Regions from separate parts of the Homo sapiens genome. Here region 2 is linked to region 1. The links are contacts of gene promoters, found by promoter capture Hi-C in blood cells and fetal thymus (Javierre and others, 2016). All regions are on one chromosome and are shown on one strand. Each heading gives the region's core, a stretch centred on a gene start or on the middle of the fragment in contact. The rest is flanking DNA. Distances are from core to core; before and after follow the strand shown.

Region 1 (6,808 bases), core at 1,416-3,915:
AAAAAAGCCTGAAATTTTTTGTCACTTTTTGGTAGGCAAAATAAACACCTTTTCAGAGAGAAAGATAACATCTTTCTCTCTGAAAAGATAAAGTTACTGAAGTTTAAAAACAAAGCTGGGCTCTTTGGCACTTGGATACTGAAATGTGATTATTCGTAGGCCACTTTTTTTTCCCCCAAGTTGAATATATATATATATATCAGGGAATTTCCATGAGCTCTTATCAAATTAAATTGATTGCATAACTAAAAAGGCCTAACAATGAATGTGGGCTTGAGGTACATGGAGGCAGGTTTATAATTTAGGGAAAAATAATTGAATACAATCATGGTTTATATATTGTTTGTTTGCAGGTGGTTTGTGAAATGTCACAAATGTCACTCAGGATCTTCTCAGTGGCTCTGAGGCCAAAGGATGTGGCTGGTTGGCTCAATTACTAGCACCTCCATGACCCATCAGCATTCTCATTCTTCTGATCCTGAGACTGTTGGTAAAGGAGCAGAGAGGTGGTCAGTCCCCTTGGTGACAGTGGTGGTGATGTGTGTATACTGGGGAATGGGGATTGTAGTGGGCATTTATAGTCTTTATCTACTCAACATTCTTTTGCCTTCTTTATTAACAACACTTTAATTTTCCTTTGGGAAACCTCTTTCTTTCTACTCGGTCCCTGTGGTTTGGGTATATATGAAGGGTACATACAATTATTTCCCTTGACCTTTTTGTAGATAAAGGCAAATAACCCCAGCCTGGCAGTGTGCATTCCATCCCATAGTTACAATGGTTAGTTCAGAGATGAACGCAGGATCCACGTGGGTCTGGTGAGACATTCTTCAGCTTGCTTTCTTTCTGATGCGACTAATTGCTAAGGAGGTTGGATGTTAAGACTGGAGATGTAGGTCTTCCCTCTGTTTAGAGAAATAAAACCAGTGCAGTGAAAGCACAATGAAGACAGGGAGAGAAATTGAGTCCTGATGCTCTTTGAGTATCTGGAGTAAAAAGGATTTCTAAGAACGTGTGTGTGTGTGTGTGTGTGTGTGTGTGTGTGCGCGCGCCAGTTCTACTTATGGGATTTATAAACATATGAACCAATAAATTCCAATGCCCTTTGCTGCAGGTTTTGCTAACTCAGTTTGAGTTGTGTGCTGGCCACATCCAACTATCCTGACTTCACTTTTGCTCGCTGATAATCTCCTTTCCCATCTTAAAAGTTTGGTCCAGGCAAGACCATGTCTCCTGCTTTTATTGAGCCCAGGGCTTATTTCGTCTCCATCTGGTTACAGAAGTTTCTTCAACCTTTTGTATAGTCTCCTCTTGCCTTATTCTTCTACAAGTTCAACACAAGTGCTTCTTTCACAGCTGTAGGTGGCAGGAGGCAAAGAACTGAGATGTTCTGGTTCAGTCTCAGGGTAGTGATATGCAAGTGCCTTTGTGTGAATGAGGAAATGCCACTCTCTCCGAGCTTGGTGCTAGGACTGGTGCTCTGGAACCCAGGCTAGATCTTAACTCCAAATTGCCTGCCCACCTCCTCAGACAGAGGACACAGTGCAGAGTACAAACTGCACAACACTATACTGAAGTCCCATAGGTCCAAGAAGCAAGGGTTGGAACTATGAGGTAGAAAAACAAGTCCGTGGACAGTAGCAACCCTCTGCTGCTCATGCCCACTGCTGCTGTGGTCTCTTCCTAGGGTGACGATAGCTGCTGATGCTGGGAGCCTCCTGGGCATCACCACCTGAGGCTGTGGCCTCAGTAATGATCACATATGTTGATAATAGCTGAAAATATCACTTGTCACTGAAAGCAGCATTTTCCACTGTCTCAAGATGATACTTTTTCTGGGGGGTCTTCCTGAGTTGTTTGGCATCTTTACAGCCCATGTGTTGATGAAAGTGAATCGTTTTAGAAATCCAGTGGGAGGCCAGCTGGGGATTGGCCATTGGAAGAGAACAGAGCACCGGGTAAAGGAGGATACCTGGCAATTCTCCCATGCCACACATCAGGGACACCTTCAAGCATTGGTCTAGGGGCCCCAGCTGGCTTTTAGTTATTTCAGTCTTCTGGACGCCTGCGTGAGACCCTCATCATTGTGTTGGAAATGAGGAAGAATAACCAAAGAAGAAACGCGAGTAGCCTCGGGGAACGCAAATCCACTGGGCAGTAGCCACTGGAGGTGCACTCTGGGGGCCCGTGGGAGCGGGAAACCAGGACCCTAAAAGGACTGCCAGGGATTAGGGGCGGGGCGACCGTCTGGGAGCGAGGCGCGGGGTGCAGGGCGCAGGCCAACGACGAGGGTTGCCCCAGTGCCGGGTGGGCGCACTTGCGGTACCCTCGATGCCTTTGCCCAGGCGGAGGAACGATGCGACCTGAGCATAGAGGGGTTCAGGGCAGGGAGCGGTCGAAAGGGGCCGGCGATCCGCCCTGGGGCAGCTCGGGCGTGGCCTCCAGGGATCTCTCCGTCTCTACTTGCCTCCTCCCTCTTTACTTGCCTCCTCCCTCTTTACTTGCCCCCTCCCTTTTTACTTGCCTCCTCCCTCTTTCTCTTCTCTCACTCACCTCCCGGTCTAAAACCGGGGCCGGCGCCTTTAAGAGGGAGCGTTGGTTACCCTGGGGGCGGGAACCCCTCGGCGGCTCGCGAGGCGGCGGCGCTCGTCCGCGATGCTCCTCACTTTCAGCTCCAGCTCCCGCCACCGCCGCCTGTATCGCCGCCGCCGCCACCACCTCCTCTTCGTTGTCCTCCTTCCTCCTCCGCCTGGCAGCGTTGTTCTCTGCAGCGGAGGAGAGAAGTGCTATGTCAGGAAAGTTCCGGGAGGGACTACATGGAGCCATGCTCCCTGGGCTCTTCCGCGGGCGCCCGCGCGCTGCCCTTCGCTTGAGGTGAGGTGAGGCTCGGGATCCCCGGCCCGCGATCCCCGGCCCGCGGGACAGGTAGCCGCTCGGGGCGGGGAGCGCTTGCATCCGCTGCGCTGGGCAGGGCGAGCAGTTTGGCGGAGTGCGGGGAGGAATGAGGCTGGAGAGACCGAAGTTGTGCCGGAGAAGCTTGGGTTTTCGGGAGGGTTTTTGCAGCTGGACTGGAGTTATTTCGGTCGGCGCCACACGGTGGGGACCCGGCGGGGACTCGGTTTCTCCCGGGCCGCCCGCCCCCCTCCCCTGCCCGTCTGAGCGGTTAGGCCTTCTAGGAAAACGGTCGGCTGCAGAGGGGCACCCCATGCCGGCTCCTTTCCTGCTGGGCTGTTCTGGTTGAGAATTCAGTGCTGGGAGTGAGAGGAAGGAGATGAGCTCCACTTGAACTTTTACACGGTGGTCTCGCTGCTTGAGGGCTGAAATTTACCTTGTTTGCGAGAGCGAAAGGTCCTTTCGCGCTCCAACAGTTAAGAGAGGTTCCCTCTTCCATGTGGTTCAGCTTGCGGCGCTGTGTGTTGCATCCTTGGCCGGTTTTCAACGTCGCCCTGATTTCAGTCTTTTCTCCTCTGCCCCTTTTCGGAAACATTCTTCTTTTTAATAATAAAATATGTTGTGGAGGCTCAGAGTGCTTAAAAAAAAAATCCAACAACATATCTTTATGAAAATTTCCCCCAGGGCTTGCCCAAATTTTCAAAGAGATCGTTTAGTCTTGGATGAGACTGAGTCTCGACACTTAGGGAATACAGGCATCCCTATAGTAGCATGCAGGTTTTTAGTGAGGTAGGATGAAGTTTAAACCATATGTTTTTAAAATAGGATTTCTCTTTGTTTATTGGGTGAGCTTGTTTTTCATTATGTCTTAGATTAAGAAGCCTTCAACCAGTTCTAGGAGTAGTGTTTCTAAGAATCATGGATAAAAACCTCATGTTTCTTGCATAAGCTGATACTGCTTCAGACATTCTAATCCATTGACGAGGTATGTAATACGTGTTTCATTTAATGAAACCTAACATAAAAGTACATTTATTGCAGACGTGGATAAGTTTTTTTTCCCACGTGTCCCGTGGGTAAAGGAAGCCCCATTTTCTCACACCCCTAGGTCTCTGCCACACCTCTATTCCTGTTTGCCTTATTCACTCACATTGCCAACTACAAATCTAAGGTGCTGATGAAAAGTCCCTATATTTTGTAAAATGTTGCATAGCCAAAATTTTAGTGACATAATTGATTACATCAATTATGAGCATTCAGATCATTTTGAACAATAAAAACAGAATGTGGGAGCTTATTTAAATAAAAGAGTGCCTTGACGTATTTCTGGTATATGCGTTACGTACAATTTTGTGTGTGAAAAGTATACTACCAAGGCAGACGGGATAGTGTAGGAAACATATTGTTTGTAATGGGAAGTTTTCGAAGAAAATCATCCCAGAATAACCAGTAATACTGTAAAATTTTGTTTGGGATATAGATTTTTATCTCTAAGTACAGTTTTGTCACTTTGCTGTAAAGTATACCAGTACCGAAACTCAAAAAAAGAACCCACCATCTCAAGCATTTTCTGAAAATTTCAGCAAGCTGAACATTCTTGGAGAAAAATTTGCTTAGGAAAAATAAACATAACTAAAACCCCTATGTAGTTACTGTTTTACCTTAAGTTTGCTGGACTGCAAGCAAGAAAGTAAGAATTTAGTGTTCCTAAGTGGATGTGACTTAGTTCCTAGAGTTACTTGAGCACCTTGAGATTTTGTTTATGGTTTATTTAATTTGGGTTGATTGTTTTGTGAATGAGTATTTTGGAAATGATACACACAGAGGTGGATTTGTATATGTATATATCCATATCACACATATATCTATATTTATGTATCCATACTATATATAGTATAACTATATATACCATATCTGTATATGCTATTGAGTATATAAAAAACATGAAAACCATTTAGGGACCTAATAATACATGTGCACCAGGAACAGTAGGTCTAAAATATCAGCTAAAAATAGTTATTGCTAGGGCTTGTCATCTTTTCAGCATTTTAGTCAATATCAGTTAAGTTAAAAAGCACTGGTTTTCAGTATGTTCTCGAACTCTTAACAAGGCTTGGATCAGGGAACCATATCCTAACCACATTTATCTATTCAAATGGATTGAATTACCCTGCCAATGGATAATTGAACCAGGCATTTCTTAAGCTTCAATAGGCAAATTCTAGGTAAAATTTAGTTTGTCAATATAGTGTTTTCTTCTTTTAATACTTCAAAAATAACCTTTAGGACATTCTTCATAGATCTGGGATTTAGAGAGTAGACCTCAAAGGCATGAGAGGCAAACCTTGGGGAAGTTCTGGTACTCCAATTTGTGAAATGATGTCTTAAGCACTTGATTTGAGAGAGGGACCCATTAATGCTTGGAAAAACAATATGTATAAATACAGTGCTCCAGTTACTACAAGCAAAACTATTTCATTCACCTTTGTTATGTTTGTTACCACATTTCACAGCTGAAGCTGCTATATTTCAGCTTATGTATGAAAATTAGAAATGAAATGAAGTAATCTGTTAGGCGGTTTTTTTTTCTTTAATTTGCTAGCTGTTTACCAGAAATGTGTTTATATTTGCTGCAAATCACCTTTACTTTGTTGCAGGTGGCACTTTTTCCTTTTTTTTTTTGCAACTATGACATATGTATATTTAGGATGAGTTCTTAGTGTTTCCTTGAAGACACATGAATGAGTTTCACAGAGTTTATGTTGCATTTCTTCAACTTTCAAAACACAACATTTGAGATGTTTGACTACCAGCCTGAGATCATAGATCTTAAGAGCTGATGTGATCCTGGTCAGTTATAGTTTCAATTTCCGGGGAATTTTCTGTTTAAGGTTAGATGTGCCCTCAATTTGAACTAGATGATCCACAAAATTGGTACTTTTGCAACCACAAAACATGAGAACATTCCAAATGATTTGAAGTGTGGGCAGCCCAACATGCTTTAGGATTTGGTTGGCTTGAGGCGGTATGCCATGCTTGTAAAAATGGTTTCTGAAGCTGACAGCAAGCTGTTTCAGGCTTTAAGTTTGACACATAGGATAAAATGCATTCTAGCCTCTGCACCAGTAAATATGGACAAGATTTGTATCCACTTCTGTTTGTATGACAGAAGATTCAGAAAACTCAAGCGTGAAACTCTAGCTTAATACACAGGAAAGCTCATTCATGTTCATTATAAACATAATGAAGAGTTAGAAAAGTTGGATTTTAACACAGCTCTCGGGTCTTGGGGAATAGATGGTATATTTGCAGGTATGGGGGCAATCTAGTGGTCACCTATTGAAATTAATAATAGGGTTATTATTATCAGCATTTCCTTTGAGTGATATGCTAAAGAATTACATCTTCCCAGATACAATTTAGAAAAACCCCCAGCCAGATACTGTACCAATCACCTGGCATATATATTAATTGATTCTTAGATCATTTTCAAATTCTTAACATCATTTTCAATTTAAACCTTTATGTGTTATTATAGTTATAAGCTTTACATACCTTTTAGGGTTTTTGAGCAAAGCTTCTTGGTTAACTTCTTTCTCTCAATTGACTTAGCTCAGTCTATGTTATTAAAGCATTTGAAAAATATTTTAGGCAAATTCTTTTCTGTGGAAACTTCTAAGGATCTTCCTTGGGGAGGCTGGTGCAGAAGGGACATGATTCTGTATTCTAGCTGTTACCTTTCTCCTAAAATGAGGCATCTTTACATCTTCCTACTTTATACAATATAAAACAAAACAAAAACAAATGCGTAGGTAACTTTAGAGAGAGAACATTTGTAGGCATTTAAAGAAGCCTGAAGTTTAGATCAGAGTAAGAGTTTCAACTGAAAATTATTTGAGAATCAATTAAATCTATC
Region 2 (6,673 bases), core at 531-3,030, 1.3 Mb after region 1:
TTTACTTGACATCACTGGAAAGTCAGCAATGTTTTGTTGTAATTATCACATATAGAATGTTATTACATTCTGAATCTTGATTTTGTTTTCAAATATGGGATGGCCATAATAACTGCCACATCCAATTTTTTTATCTCTCATATATACATATAGATTTAATTAGTTCAATAATTTCCTGAATGTAAACAATGTAGAATTTAGTAAATTAATAAGCACTGATGGGAAAGGTCTCCAAGATAAATGAGCAAGTGATTAGTATGTTAATACTTACAAGAGAAATTCACATTATATTAATATAAATTTTAAATATATATGTGCATGTATGATATATAAAAATATCTGAAAGGATATATGCATTGTTACCTATAGGGATGTAACAGAAGGGGAATGAAGGAGAATTTTCTTTTTTACTCTCTGTAGTGCTGTTTTCTTTTTTAATGTGAGCCCATATTTATGTATTTTTTAATTAAAAATACAGCACCAGAAGAATATGCCATTTATCTAATAGATGGTTTCTTGGAAAGAAAAAGAGCTGCATATAAATTCATTTGTGTAGTAAATAGACATTTTAAATGTGTTGCATCAGGGGTAATCAGTCACTGAGAGTCCAAAGACAAAAATGATCCAAAGAAGGAAGAATGGAGAAAAAAAAAATCCCCCATTTTTTTTTCTTTTTTGTCAAATTCTTGTATGGAAAGATTCTAACACAATAAACTAATAGTAGCCTTTGGTTTATCCTAATTAGCATTTATTAAAATCATAGTCCCCACCCCACAAGATCCTTCAGGTTAATCCTATCTTGCTACTAGAAAAGCGGCAGCCATTTATCTTATCTTTTGGCATCAGCATTGAAGAGTCTTCTTTGTATTTCCCAGACCTAAGCAGTTACACCTTCAACCATCTTTTTCTTGCCTCTATTTCAATGGGCCCTATTGTTTGTCTCCTGATTATTTCATGTCTATTTTTCCCTGTCCTAGAAGTTTCATTAGTATTTCCTAGCCATATGCCATTTATACCTTTGCTCATTACTCCTGTCACTGAAGATGAGAAATCAATTTCTGTCCATATCCTCTCCACTTACATTAATCAGAGATATATTTTGTAAGCAATAGAAATTGAATCTGGCAAACCTGAAAACAAATAGACTATGTAAAAAGTTACAGAATTTAGCATGAAGATGAAGGCTAGTACATTAGGTAATGGCAATGGATAGGAAACAAGAGGGGCTAGGAAATTGGGAACACAGCCTCATATAACAGTACAGATTAGGGCACTGCTGCTTTCAGGGCTGCACTGATCTCAAAGCTGCTGACACCACTATGAGTGACTTCTCAACTCTGTGTTGTCTACCTCGTTGCTTCAAGATTCAAATTTTGGATTGAGATCATTTGATTAGCTTACTCTAGGCTGTATGTCTTTTCCTCCTTAGCCTCCTTGAAGTAGAGCCCAGAACTTTTGGCTTTAATGGGAAATTGGGCACAAAACACAGAATACATTATTCTTCCAAAACCTGAAGGATTTTTAGATTCTAAGTAGTAACAAAATAAAATAAACTAAATCCCCAAACAATAGTCCAATTATCCATCACAGTATGCTTCACTGTCCATATAAAGTCTACTTTCTCCCTTACTATTTTATACTTACTGTTTTATTCTTTTAATCCCTATACATTTATAGGGAGTAATATGAAACAGCAATAATTTCTTAATTAACTAAATTGTTCTGTTCTTTTTATCATATCTGGTATCTGTGAAGGTGTAACTAAGGTATTCCTTGACACAGTTTGGGATGCAAAGAATGTAACTCCAATAGTGCCATGAGTAAAACACTAAAGTTTCCACCAATTTATAGCAGTAGATAATTCAGAGAGCCAAACTCATTGTTTCCCCTAATGCTCTGATCCTTTCACTGTACCTACCAGCATCCTGACAGCAAGGAATCCATTCTAACTCTATCCCACATAAATTCACGAACTATTATCAGACCAAGGAAAAAACTTGCCTTGGTAGGTCATGATTAAAATTCACTGGCCTCGTAGTGGTCACAGGTTTTAGGGTGACTTCTTGATGCATTAGATAAGGCTCTTCTAAGAATTGATGTACATAACCCAGAATTAAACTCAGTGTAGGTAACTTCTAACTAAACAGGCCAAGCCCCTTTGGTGAAAGTTTTTCTCATTCTCTGATCCAAGTACTTGCCCAGGTGATGGCCCTCCTGAGTGACAGAGATGGGAGAGCGTTCTGCCTTCCCAAATAAAGAAGGCAGAAAGTTCACCTCTGGTTGAATGGTGCTGTTAAATGCTAATGCATTGATTGACTATATATGGAACATTTCTCCTTAAGGAAACCCTATCCTGAAGGAAACCCTATTCTGCAAACAGGCATGGTGGCAGCTAAGGGAGATGCATGTCTTTAGTGGAAACCAGAGCCAGCAGGGAGATGTAGCACTTCCTGAGTTCGGAAATGACTCCACCAGTTGATATAGGGCCTCTCAGTGTGTTGAAGGAAGGAAGTCCTATGTTTTATGATTGAGCATTAGTGTCATACTACAATCAGCCACTCCCCAAATGTTGCATCACTGAAACTCCAGGTTTCACAGAGAATTTCCTAAGGTATTAGGTTTGAGTTTCTTCCTTCGTGGGATGCTATGGATTCTTTAACCAAACCAACCTAATCTTTCTCCTGCCATAGTACCACCTTCTCCTGCCATGCAAAAAGAAGCAGTTTGCAAAAGTCAGTAAAAGAAAAAAAAAATGCCTTGTTATTTCTCAAAATGATGGGCTCACTTGTCTTCTATTTATATAAGAGAGACCACAGTAATTATTCTCAACAGTATCAGCTACAAGGTGATTTTCTGTGCCTGCGTATTCTAAGAAGTAGCTGGCAATTTCTCTTGTTAAAAGAGAAAAAGAAAAAAACATGCACTTACTCGCTGATAAACATTTTTCTGTTAGAGAACCCAATTAAATAGCAGGCCTGTGTTGTGTACGTCTTTTATACACCCTGTAATGCCAGGTTCCATGAAGGCAGTTCCAGAGATAGTCTAATTCAGAGCTGGGGCTCCAACTCCCAACACATAGTAGGTGCTTGTAGTAGGATGATAATAATTCCCAAAGATACAGAGGTCCTAATCCTCTGAACCAGTGAGTAATAATTCAAATGGCAAAAGGGACTTTGCAGGTGTGAGGAAGGATCTTGAGATGAGAGTTGTCTTGATGGACCCTAAATATAGTCACACATGTCTTTATAACAGGGAGGCAAAGGGAGATTTGACAAAGAAGGCGGCAATGGGACTACTGAAACAAAATGCTAGGCTGCTGGCTTTGAAGATCAGACTAGGGACCAAAAGTAAAGGAACGCAAGCATTTCATTCAAGCTCTAAAAGCCAGAAAAGGCAAGAAAAACCTTCAGAAGGGAGAGTGACCATAATAATACCTCAATTTCAGCCCAGTGAAACTGACTTCAGACTTCTGACCTCCTGAACTGCAGGAGAATAAATGTATGCTTTTTAAGCTACCAAGTTTCTGGTAATTTGTTCTAGCAGCCACAGGAAACTAATACAGTTTTCAACAAATATGTGTTGAATAAATAAATCAATGAACAGTAGGGATTCAATAAATATTACATTAATTATAAGATGCCCAGATTGTTTCTTTGAATGTGAGAGAAACATCATTCTTTAAATGTATCTGCAAAGTAAAAGCTAATTGCATTAATATAAACTGAGTTGTTATTTACCAATTTTTATTCTGGCTGTTTTTGTTTTGGTTTGTTGAGATGGGCAAATATGTTAGCTTCATAATAATTGGTTTTATTTGATTATGCTTTTATTCACAATGTTGAGGGGTGCCTACTTTCAGAAAACATATATTCATCACAAATCTCTACCTCCTAGGAGTTTGCCGTCTACCAAGAAACACAGAGATATACAGTGTGTGGTTTATATTGATTATCTGCTTACCACTGTTTGGATTACTTTAATTATTTTTGTATATGTCTATATCTCAAAAGAGTTTGTGCCCCTGCAAGGCAGTCTTTTCTGCATTCATCTATTTACAGCATCTATCACAATGCTTTCCACATAGCAAGACTTCAGAAATATTTAGTTGAATGTATCTAGTGGCCAGAAATTCATGCTTTATTGACTGAATAAGGAATGAAGGAAACACAGTGTAAGAGTATGTGTGTGGGAGTGTGTGTGTGTGTGTGTGTTTATACATATGTATGATAATTTGGTGGTAACATTTTGTTGTTCTTCTTTCAAAATAAATTCCCTGAGTGTGATGTCTACTCATCTGTTAAAATAAAAATATGCAACAATAAAAGCAAAGCTTATCAAGTTACCATTTATAATTTTACAGCAAATATTTATATATATAAATATGTATATAATATAAATTATTTTTATATAAATATATGTATTCATATAATCTATATGTATTTATATATAATTTTATATGTATTCTATATATGTGCTATCTGTAGTATTTTATGATTCATAGAAAAAGATAATGTGCTCCCAAAAATACGTGCTAAAAATACATAATACAAATTTCATACATACATACATACATTTGCACTGCTTTTGTGGGTATGGAATTTGTTATGAGATACAGTGTATCTTTATTCCACAACATTGACTTTTTTTACAATTTGTATAACTTGATCATGAAAAGTATAGGAATAAAGATCAAAAGAATGTGAAAATACTGAGTATAAAATATTTTTCAAGTGAATATCAATGATATTTCATTAAAACACAAGATAAGGAAATTTTATTCTGGGTTTATTTACCAAGGAACAAAATATTTTGGCTTCTCTTAATTTTTTCCCCTTCAATTGTGATTTCCTTCTGCATATGTTCAAGCTCCCCGGATAACTCATCTTCCTTGTTGTTCCTGTGGCATTTTTGCATCTAGACGTGAGATTTATTTTCCCTCAAGCTCTTACTGTGGGCAGCTCAGTGGTATTCCCTATATTCTAATATGTAGCTCCAAAACACTTACTGCCCGGCGGTACCTGGCTTAGGCTACTTATTAACTTCCTGTCTAATTTCCACAGTCTTACGTCTGCTGGAACATTGTTGGATTTTGGCAACTCATAGAATTTTAGACTATTAAGAGACATTAAGTTTGAGCTGGACACTGTTTATTTTACTTAGTAGAACAATCTCTTCTACAACATTCCAAACAGGTGGTAGCCATACATTGAACAGCCAAGAATAGGTGACTGATTCTCACAAAGTCAGGACAAATTGCTGCAAAGTTTTTATCAAAATAATTCTAAATGAATTTCCTTATTTCTTCCATACAGGTTTCCTAGCTCTCTTTATTGAGCTTTACAAAATACCGTAATACCTCTTCTACAACAAAAATAAATAAATGAATATGTTTCTAACTTTCTTTCAGAACATTTTGACCCCTTTAAAACTTCTCTGCAACTTTGCAAAACATCTTGATAATATCTTTAAGTGTGACAGCCAGAATAGAATAAAGAAACGAGTTGCTGGTACAGAATACAATCTATTTTAGAAAATATTGTCAGTGCAACCTGGTATGCCCAGTCAGGAGGAAAGAAAAGGCACTGATTCTTCATATCAACCCTACTGTAAATTTTACGGGGAAAATTTCTGATGAACACAATTCTGGGTGAACTAACTAATGTGGCTACACAGCCTCTCTCCCACACAAAGAAATGCTAAATCAGGTGTAATTTTAAAATATTTGGTTTTACTATGTAGCCTGAGAGGGAGAGAGAGAAAAAATGAGAGAGAAAAAAATTCTAAGTGTCAAGAACAAGTAGAAAATTTGAAGCCAGTGACTTGGTGGAGAAGATTAGTCGTGGATGAAAGACTCTTTCCTAACTTCTGAAACTGTAATATTCAGCCAAGGAAATGAGACAACTTATTCTTGCATCATAAGGATTTTTTAAAAACTGGACCGAATTACAAAGAGAACTTGCAAAGTTAATAATCATATTGAGATTGGTAACATGCTTCTACCAGAAATAATAGGTAAAGTATAAAACTATTAGAATATAGATTATTTCAACGAAGCACTTAAGGGAATTTATTTATTGTACTTACATATCATCTTGTACCTGAAAAAATAATTCACTTTATTTTAAGAAAACATTAGTATGTACAAAACTTTAGCACATTCTAGGCCACTAAAGATTGTTTCAGGAAATACCAAATAACAACATATAAACTGTATTCTTTGACAAATATTTAATGAAATTAAAAAACAATAACAAAACAGTAGCCATTCATCAGGTATAGGAATGAAATGACACAGACCAATGATTCATGGATTAAAAAAGAACTAAAAGTAGAGATTATATTTAGAAAAGAATTATTTTAAAAGGGCTTCATGTTAAAATATGAGCATTAATGTAAACCCAAAAAGTCAAAAAAAGGGAGAAATAGTGATAACAGGAGAAAGTAATAAAATAGAAAATAAAGATACCAGAGTCTTTAAAAAAATAAACTATTAAAAATAAATAGGCCTCCAACAGAAATGAGGGGGAGGGCAAAAAGAGAAAAGGAACAAATAATATCAGGAATGGAAAAGGAGTAATAAAAGTACTGTAAGCTTTTAAAAAGTCATCAGAGAATGCTAAGAATAAATGCCAGAACATTTGAAAACTTAGATGTTAATTTTTTAAAAATGTAT

Evidence for each region. Contacts are between HindIII fragments. The CHiCAGO score rates a contact against its expected background, and 5 or more counts as called.
Region 2: a contact is called between a fragment that was not itself captured here and the fragment with the promoter of GPR63 in region 1, in 4 of 17 cell types (fetal thymus, non-activated CD4 T cells, naive CD4 T cells and 1 more). The highest score is 7.2, in fetal thymus.

The regions. Positions count from the first base shown.
Region 1 is chr6:96,833,334-96,840,141 of GRCh38, reverse strand. It overlaps GPR63 (G protein-coupled receptor 63), which reads left to right and starts at 2,665. Exons shown (of 2, transcript NM_030784.4): 1 at 2,665-2,874. RefSeq lists a silencer at 3,106-3,155. The HindIII fragment of the contact is 5,695 bases long and covers 1-3,038 here.
Region 2 is chr6:95,568,119-95,574,791 of GRCh38, reverse strand. All of the region lies in intron 1 of MANEA-DT (MANEA divergent transcript), which reads left to right. Among named protein-coding and RNA genes, the nearest start is that of MANEA-DT, 6.0 kb to the left of the region's middle. The HindIII fragment of the contact is 5,105 bases long and covers 1-4,332 here.